Regions from separate parts of the Homo sapiens genome. Here region 2 is linked to region 1. Evidence: promoter capture Hi-C in 16 types of primary human blood cells and fetal thymus (Javierre and others, 2016). All regions are on one chromosome and are shown on one strand. Each heading gives the region's core, a stretch centred on a gene start or on the middle of the fragment in contact. The rest is flanking DNA. Distances are from core to core; before and after follow the strand shown. Region 1 holds the start of LONRF1 (LON peptidase N-terminal domain and ring finger 1). Region 2 holds the start of PCM1 (pericentriolar material 1).

Region 1 (4,368 bases), core at 1,317-3,816:
TTAACAGTGTGACGGTGTGCAAGTCTTCACTGCCTGGCATCTGCTTCCTCGCTTTAAAAATCACACCATGGTCAGTTACTAGGTGGTCTGTACAACTGAGTCCAGTTTCTCTTCTCTTTATTCACCCAGAGAAGCAGAGTCATGTGTATCAGAATTCTGTATTCCAAATACTTTTTTTTTGTTCTGAGCCTACCTTTCTATTTTATACCTGCCTACTCCTCACGAAGGCACTGAAAGAATACAAAAATCTCCGGGGTTTGTGCTTCGAACTCTAAAGATACTAAACAACACAAGATCTTGACATTAGTTCAATATGACTAAGCACTTGGGACAAAAGATGACCCGAAAGATGATCCTTTCAGTTACACAGTCTATAAATTTACCTGTAATACCTAAAGTCAGTTGCTATTCTAGATGTCTGTTTTCTTGGGGATTATTCCCCTATCATTTCATGCCAATGGATAGACACTAAGATCTTGAAATACGCGTAACACAAGGTTTATCAACAGTGGCACTTGGGGCCTGATAATTCTTTGTTGTGGGAATCCTGCTGTGCCTAGTAGGATGTCTGAGCAGCACCCCAGCCTCTCCCACTAGATGTCGGTACCAGCACCACCCCCACAAGAGGTGGCAACCAAAAATCTCTCCAGATATTGTTCTAAATAATGCCCCCTGAGAGAGGGGAGATAAAATCCCCCTGGTAGAGAACTACTGATTTATATAGAACAACTCTTCCTTTTACGTAAGAGAAGCTTGAAACTGCCCCCTTTCAGCGCCTAAAACCACCTTAAGAAGAAAGTGCTAACCTAGGTTAGGAGGCCGAGGCTGCTTCTTGGAGACTAAGAAATGCACTCAAGACCTATAAGGCCTTTCCCCACAGCCTGATCCTAAGTGGAAAGGCCAGGAGAAGCGTGGCAGAGAACTATGGATCAGGCAGCCCCTCTCATCTTTACCATAAGCTAGGTGCACTGCAAAGTACATAGGAAATAAGCAGGATCTGAAACAGGCCAGCTGAAACTTTCAAGAGGAACCAGTTCAGGCATTTCCAGGTAGCAAGGGACCACCCTGGGCAGCTCCGCCCCAAGCCCCAAGCCCGGCGGCCTGCAGGGCCTCCCGGGGCCGGGCGCCCGCGCGGAGCTCCCGCCACGCCCACCGGACGTCACCCGTTACACAACGCCCCCCGCCCCCAGCTTATGCAATTCTGCCCTCCCGCGGTTCCCAATTGTCCCGGTGACTTTTGTGGGTGAGGAAGGGAGACGCCGCCTGCCCGGCCTAGTTGCCCTCGCGGGGGATTCTCTCCCCGCCCCGGCAGTCGTTTCCCCGCGGCGGGCCCGGCCCGAGAGCCAATTCCCGGAAAGCGCGCGGCAGGAAGCGAGCGGCCGCTCGGGATAGCCCAGCTACCACCCATCCCGCGCCGGGGCGGCCTCGGTCCAGGTCACCCACTCCGCGCCGGGAGCGCGCGCCCGACAGCCAGGCCGCGGCCGAGGGAACCCCGCGCCGAGCGCCCCTCCCCGCGCCGCGTCACAGTCGGCTCCCAGGGCGATCCCCATTATGACCGAAGCACCCCGGGGCGCCGCCCCCTCCCACACCCCCCAGCACCCCGAGACCCGACACGCCAGCGGCCCAGCGGCCCCGGGGAAGCAGAGGAGACTCTCGGGGCGCAGACAAGCTCCGGGTCCCCGGCCCTCGGGGCCAGGAGGGTGCGGTCGGCCCGGCCCCGCCGCATCCCCGCGCGGTCACCTGCTCGCAGCGCCTCGCAGGCGGCGGCCAGGGCCTCCCGGTAGCGCCCCTGGTGCAGTAGCTCCCCGAGCCTGCCGGCCGCCCGGGCCCGCTCGCGCTGGCCCGGAAACCACTTCTCGGCCAGGTGGTTGAGGACGACGCTGGTTCTGAAGTCTGAAGCGGCGATGGCGGCGGCCAGAGGCGGCGGCCGCGGGGCGGTCCCTTCAGCATCAGTGGCACTGGCGGTGGCGGGCGGCAGCCGGTCCCGGCAGAGGCGGCAGCGGGCGCGGAGTTCCCTCCGCAGGCAGCGGCGGCAGTAGCTGTGGCCACAGGGCACGGTCACCGGCTCGCTCAGGAAGCCCCGGCAGCCCAGGCATCTGAGGAGCCCGCCGGCGCCGCCGTCAGCGCCTGCAACCGGGGCCGCGCTCCAGCCCAGCCCGTGGCGGAGCCGGTAGTTGAACACCAGGCAGTCCACCAGGGCGCCCAGGCACTCGGGCCTGGCCGGGGCCCCGCGGCGCAGCGCCGCCGCGAACGCCTCCAGCGCGCCCTTCAGGTGGCCGCCCAGCGCCAGCAGCTCCCCGCGGCGGAGCAGCAGCTCCCAGCGCTCCGACTCCGCGGCCGCGCGCTCCAGCCGATGGCCGCTGCCGCCGCCCACTTCCCAGAACCGGCCTCGGCCCTGCGGCGCTGGGGCCATCTCCCGACTCCCTCCTGGGGAGGTCCTCGCCACCGCCGGAGAGGACATGGCCCGCGGAGGGCTGCGCCGCCGCCGCCCGCCGCCACGGTCCCGGAGCCTCCCGGGCGCGCGGCTCCGCACGCGGCCCGCGAGCAGGGGGGCGTGGCGCGCGGACACGGCGGGGCTGCGCGCGCCCGGGAAGCCCCGAGGGCGGGGCCTGGCGAGGGCGGGGCCGGGCTCGGCGACGGCGCCCGGGACTCCCCCACGCCGCCCGCGGCCGCGCTCCCGAGGAGCCAAGCGCTGGGCCCCGCCCCTTCCGAGCCCCCTCCGGGTGGGGGACGCAGGTCGGATGATTCCTCCGTCGGAGATCTAATTGGCTTCTCCGGAAAGGAGGGCTCGGCTCGTGACGGAACAAAGCCGGAAGGACCCCGGAGCTTCAGTCCCCGCTTGCCTGTCTGCCAACGCCGCCACCTGCGGTGGCCCTCGCCCCTGCCGGGGGTTGGGGGACGCTCCCCTGCCGCGCGGGACTCCGGGTCACCACCCCTCCCCCGACGCCCCCGCCCAGGCCGGACCTGCCCCAACTCCTGGCGGGCGGGGGTCTCCCCGCGTGGCCTCGCGCTTGTGCGGGTCTGCATTTTCATAGCTCTACGCCCATGTTCCAGGTGGGCGCGCCCAAGCAGGGGGCCTGGGAGCGCACCTTCGGCAGATGACTGGGACTCTTCGGTTCTAGAGGACTCAACTTTAAATATGAACAAAAAACCCACGTTCCTGGGGCGACTCCCTCCAGAGGGCAAGGAGTTTTTCCTGGTGCCAGGTGACTGCTTGCCCGTCTTGCTTAAAACTCATCGTGGGCCCACCTCGAGGGAGAAAGCCCACAGCTTCCTCAGGTGTCTCCACACCTCAAGCACTGCCTTACAGCTGGTTAAGGTCTATATTTGGCAGTTTTAAAAGAAAACACCAAGAAACATGTTTCACATGGCGGTCACCGTATTACTACAACCCAAGCTGGCTCTGCAGTTTTGCTGACAGAAGAAAATGATCGGGTTGATATATAATGGGTGCTATTTCCCTTAAACTTCACAGCAGCAAGTTTAAAGCTCTCAGCTGAAAATACAGATTTGATGATAGGGTATTAGATCGCTAATGTTGGAAGTCACTTAGGACTTTTAGTCCTTTTTCAAATGATTGGAAACACAGGGAAAGTTATTTGTCAAAAATCACACAGCTAATACAGATTTTAAGATCACGTCTATTCCACTACTACTACGTTAGACTAATATGTAATATTTAATAAAATATGTAATATTTCATAGAAATATATGAGATTTTCAAAGTAAAAGAAGTTGCTAATTGGAAAGTTCACCTGAGCATGCTATGTATGAAATTGGTAAACGTTTAATATTTCTCTTTATAAGGAACAGGCAATTAAGGCTAAAAAATGTTTTGAGTTCATGTGTTTTCACTACACAATCAACAAGTCGTGTAACGTCAGAAAAGACAGAGTTATATTACCCTAAAGGGAATGAATAAAAAAGAGGTGCCTGAGAAAAAGCCAAGCCTCCTGTTCCAACAGGATGCAGACAGAAACAAGTTCATTTATCACTCACATTGCACCTGAAGCAAATTGCAGCTAGATCCAAGGAGCACCTCCTAAGCATTTGGCATGGGAAGCATTGGGATTAAGTCATGAGCATAACCTTAAATCCAATCCTAACCCCTAAATTACTACCTTAACAAGCAGAACAGTGACTTTCAGCTGATGTCCACATACTCCCTTGAGACTTGAAATCACAAACAAATATCCATGTGTACACGCACATTCATTTTTGTAACGCATCCTTGTTCTTAATGGCATGTTGCAAAATTTACAACAGTAAATATGTAATCAATGTGTTCATGTTTATTACAAGGAGCATAGTAAATTAATAAACACTCATAAACTTCTTTTCAAATATAAAGTCAGGTTCTATTATGGG
Region 2 (4,009 bases), core at 206-2,705, 5.2 Mb after region 1:
GGCATAAAACAAACTCTGAGAACATTTTTTAAAAAATCCTTTCAAGGTAGGCAGTATCATTCCTTCCCCCTCATTTCATAGATGGGGCAATTAAGGCTCAGAAAGGCACGTCGCTTGTCCAGGATCTTGGAGTGGTGGAATTAGGATAGGGCATTCTGGACTACAATAAACACCTGAGCGTTTAGCTGCTGTGTTCTGAGCTCCCACAGCACTTTTTCTTACAACACAAACTTTATTTACATCACACTCCACTTCCGCATCCTTCACTAAAATATGAGCTCTTCAAGGGCAGGGACTATATTTTTGCTACCGCAGTAGTTAGCGATACACACACAGAATATGAGGAAAAAGTGTCTGACCAACGATCAATGCACTCACGACTGAACCTACGGTGGCAGATTGCAGTGGGATAGAAGAGCTTTATGTGAATTGCGTACTGAGATGCAGACCTACTATTTTGGGAACAATTTGTTTTTGTTGTTGAAACCCAGAATGCAATTCTTCTTTTTACCTTTATTTTGCTTAAAAAGTTATTCCATAATTATAAACTGCGTAAAACTAGAAGAATGCCCTTGCACTCAACTAAAACTGACAGGTGTTTTACCTTTCCAGTCAGGCACATTGAAGGCCTTGTGACTTTATTGATTTTTGTTTTTTAAAGGGAGGACCTGCCAATTTATTAATCTTAATAGAGCTGTAACAGGAGAGTATAAATAAAAAGATAGTTCAGAGAAAATTTACTGAAATTAAGTTTGGATTAAAATCATCTGGCTCTTTTAAGGAAAAGGGACATTAACCAAAAGTGGCGTTAACTATCAACAATATTTATGATTCTCTCACTCAGTAGATACATAATGACGTCTGGCAAATTGTTTAACTTCCGTGGAACAATCCCCTCATATGTAAAATCAGGAGGTTGGACTACATTGTAAGTGTCCTTTTGTTTCCACCTCTTCGTGACCGAATGTGGGGTGAGGAAGGGGCAAAAAAGCGATCCCGGTCTTGGCTCCTTCTTCCGGCACGGGCCGGAGCTGACACCCCCACGGAAAACCGCACAGCGCCTCCGCTCTTTCTCCACGGGCTGAGGGATCAATGCACTTCCGCATAGGCCTAGGGCCCCACGCTCCGCGATCAGCGCCGGAAGCGCACGGCATGCTGGGATTTGTAGTCCTCCACCTGTGGCCGGCAGGCGTTTAGAACGCGAGGTCTAGTTGGCATTCTGGGATACATAGTTCCTGGGCGGGTGGGGGCGGATTCGTTGGTGTAATCTCTTTTCGGCTTAAAGAGCCAGAAGCGACACCACAGACTCCGGCGGGTCACATGACTCCAGTCTAGCTCGCATTGCGGCTCCCGCCCGGGCGAGTTCTCGCCCCCGCGCGGCCGTTGCCGAGGAGACGGCGCATGTCCCGCCGCGCGTTGCCCCCTCTGCAGTACCCCCGCCCCTCTTCTCCCACCACAATGAGATCCTAAGATGGCGGTGGCTGCGGCGGTTGGCGCTGCGTAGCTGAGGTCGAAAAGGCGGCCACTGGGGCCGAGGCAGCCAGGAAACGTGTGGGCCTCTCTGCTGCGGTCTCCGAGGGCCGACCGCTGCCGGCGGCGGGTCGTGGGGGCTGACTGTCGCTCTGCCTTTGACAGGAGAGGCTGCTTCTTGTAGAGGTAATGCCTGCGCGTCCCCAGCCCTTGGCAACCTAGGGCGGCGCGCCCCAGAGGCGGGAGAGTAACGGCTCCGGGACACTCGGCCCTGTTGGGTCTGGCCACGGGCCCACGCCTCCTCTGTAGGTTCCCGGGTCTTCCTGCCCCGGGCTTCCCGTGCCCTAGGCGGTCAGTCCGCCCGCTCCCTCAGGACTGATCGCCGGGATCCCCGGGTGAGCACCTCGCGACGCGTTGGTGATTGCAGGACTCCCTTCTTGCCTCCTCGCCCCTCCTGCTGGCCCTGTCGGGGAGGCTGTTCTGCGTCCCGGTGGCTCCGGCTATACCCCTTGCGGGCGGAGGAAGCGGAGCGGGGACTCTGGTTTGGGTGCTAGGGGCACTGGGTCGAGTTCTTAGAGAAACAGGCCTTGGTGGCCATAGTTCTTCCCCGCGTTCCCTCTGTGGAACTCTCGGTGTCCAGAGTTTGGGGTGTAGAAGGGCGGATGAGGAGCGACGCGACTCTGAAGAGTTGCAGTTGGGCTGTGAGCTGCAGGATTTCCGCCGTCTCTGGTGCTGTGGGAGCCGATGGGCCGGGGGAGGCGTTCCTGGGAAGGTTAATGGAGTAATTATTGCCCCTTCTTTCTCCCTTCCTACCTATCTAGTTAGAATTGGGCCTAGAACCGGGAAAGACTAAATGCCAAGTGGGACTGGGGGAAACGTTGTTTGGTTTACAGAAACTGGCGTTTGGGGATTAGGCCCCGCCAGGGAGGCTGGGCGCGCCAACTTTGCATCCCTCAGCCTACTCCCCAGGAACTCGCCTGGTTTAATTTTTTTTGTTTTGTTTTGTTTTTTTGAGCGAGTTGAGGTCTGTATTGTGTGTCTTACGGGTGACGGTTCGTGTTTGGGCGCTGGAAGGAGCGGGCTTTCTGGGCGCCCCTACCACCCCCGCCCCATAACCGCTTTCCAGACTCCGCCTGCTGGTGTTCTCTGGTTACCGGAGTGGGTGTTGCAGAGCCTCGGGTGCACCTGCTCCTTTCTTTCCCTAGCACCTTCCTGGTGAGGACCCCTGAACACCAATATAATACAGAGTTTTTGAATTGAAGGTAAACCTGGTATTTATGTAGTGACGAGGTTATTTTATTATGAAGTACAGTAGCTTTTAAATGAGCAAACATTTTTAAAATCATCGGATATACGAGGTTGTTACATAGTTTGAGTAACAGGAAGCTCGATCAATCAGAGGAGTAAACTTTGGCATAGACTATTAAAGGATAGTTAGGGCTAACCATCTTTGTTACACTGTTCCGAAATAGATATCACTTTGCTGTTTGGTAAGATTTCAGAAGTTTAGGGGATTTAAGCATTTATGCATATCACACTATTTTCCAAAAGAATTGAGGTAACTTAAATTTAAAATATGAATAAGTTATATTTTTCCCCTTCTTTTGATCTTTCTAAACATACTTTAGACCAAAACTGAAGTATTTTTTATTCTGTATTTCATAGCGTAAGTAATTTACTTAAGTGATACATATTTTTAATCCTAATTAGGAAACAGCTTTGAAGTGTGGAGCGGGAAAGGAGCAGTTTCTGAGCTGCAAAAACTAGTTTCTAAACAGGTAATTTGACATTATTATCTGTATTATCCTTTGTATTAGAGTTGGAGAAGACTTTATGGTGGACACTGCTGTCACAGTTACAGTGCATGACTGAGGATCCTCTCTGCTTAGTAAACAAACTTTCTGGGTTCACCGCCCTGTTTGCTCTGCTTTTCGGCGTGCTGCTTTGGCCTGCCGGTATATCTTTGTTCGGAAAGGCCCTGTCATTCCTAATTATTAATTACTAGAATGGTTTATGCAGTACCGTTTGAAATTTATTTGTCTTCACAGAATTTTTTCAACCTGTTTGAATTTGTCCTATAACTGGATAGCCTCTCTTTCCAAATCCATTTAATCTCAAGTTCTCTCCTACAACATTCCTATTAATTGGCTGTTCATGAACTCTACTTGTCGAACTTGTTATACCTTGACCGAAATTTAGTTGTCTAAAATTACTTTATTATTATTTTTTGTACTTCGATCTCCCTTTCCTGGTATAAAGTTACTTGAAACATTACTTTTAGCGCATAGTACATTGTCACATGCAAGTGACATAAAGGTATTCTCTGTCCAGCAGAATAAAGTCAGTGTTGTAGAATGTAAGTTCACTAGGAGAAGTTCAATAATTGTTTGCAAAGGGCAGTTTGGAAAAATGGCTAAAAGATAATTAGAAGTTTGTTAAAAGCTTTTTAGAAATAATTGCTCTTCAGAAAAAAACCTCAGAAATAAATAACCTAAATTTAATTCTACTCTTAAAATTTTAAGAAAGTTCATTTTGAAAG

Evidence for each region. The method cuts DNA at HindIII sites, captures the fragments that hold promoters and counts their contacts. A CHiCAGO score of 5 or more calls a contact.
Region 2: the fragment with the promoter of PCM1 here is called in contact with the fragment with the promoter of LONRF1 in region 1 in 1 of 17 cell types (total B cells); the score reaches 7.7 in total B cells.

The regions. Positions count from the first base shown.
Region 1 is chr8:12,752,960-12,757,327 of GRCh38, forward strand. It overlaps LONRF1 (LON peptidase N-terminal domain and ring finger 1), which reads right to left and starts at 2,567. Exons shown (of 12, transcript NM_152271.5): 1 at 1,741-2,567. The coding sequence starts at 2,461. RefSeq lists silencers at 966-1,205, 1,346-1,885, 1,782-1,972, 1,976-2,315, 2,396-3,065 and 1 more and an enhancer at 2,041-2,860. The HindIII fragment of the contact is 11,195 bases long and covers 751-4,368 here.
Region 2 is chr8:17,921,533-17,925,541 of GRCh38, forward strand. PCM1 (pericentriolar material 1) reads left to right here and starts at 1,456. Exons shown (of 39, transcript NM_006197.4): 1 at 1,456-1,656; 2 at 3,181-3,248. LOC124901867 reads right to left here and starts at 3,455. Exons shown (of 4, transcript XM_047422505.1): 1 at 3,382-3,455; 2 at 2,625-2,695; 3 at 1,977-2,234; 4 at 1-1,814. The coding sequence starts at 3,455. The coding sequence ends at 1,132. RefSeq lists enhancers at 824-1,273, 2,424-2,483 and a silencer at 1,668-1,962. The HindIII fragment of the contact is 6,694 bases long and covers 1-3,910 here.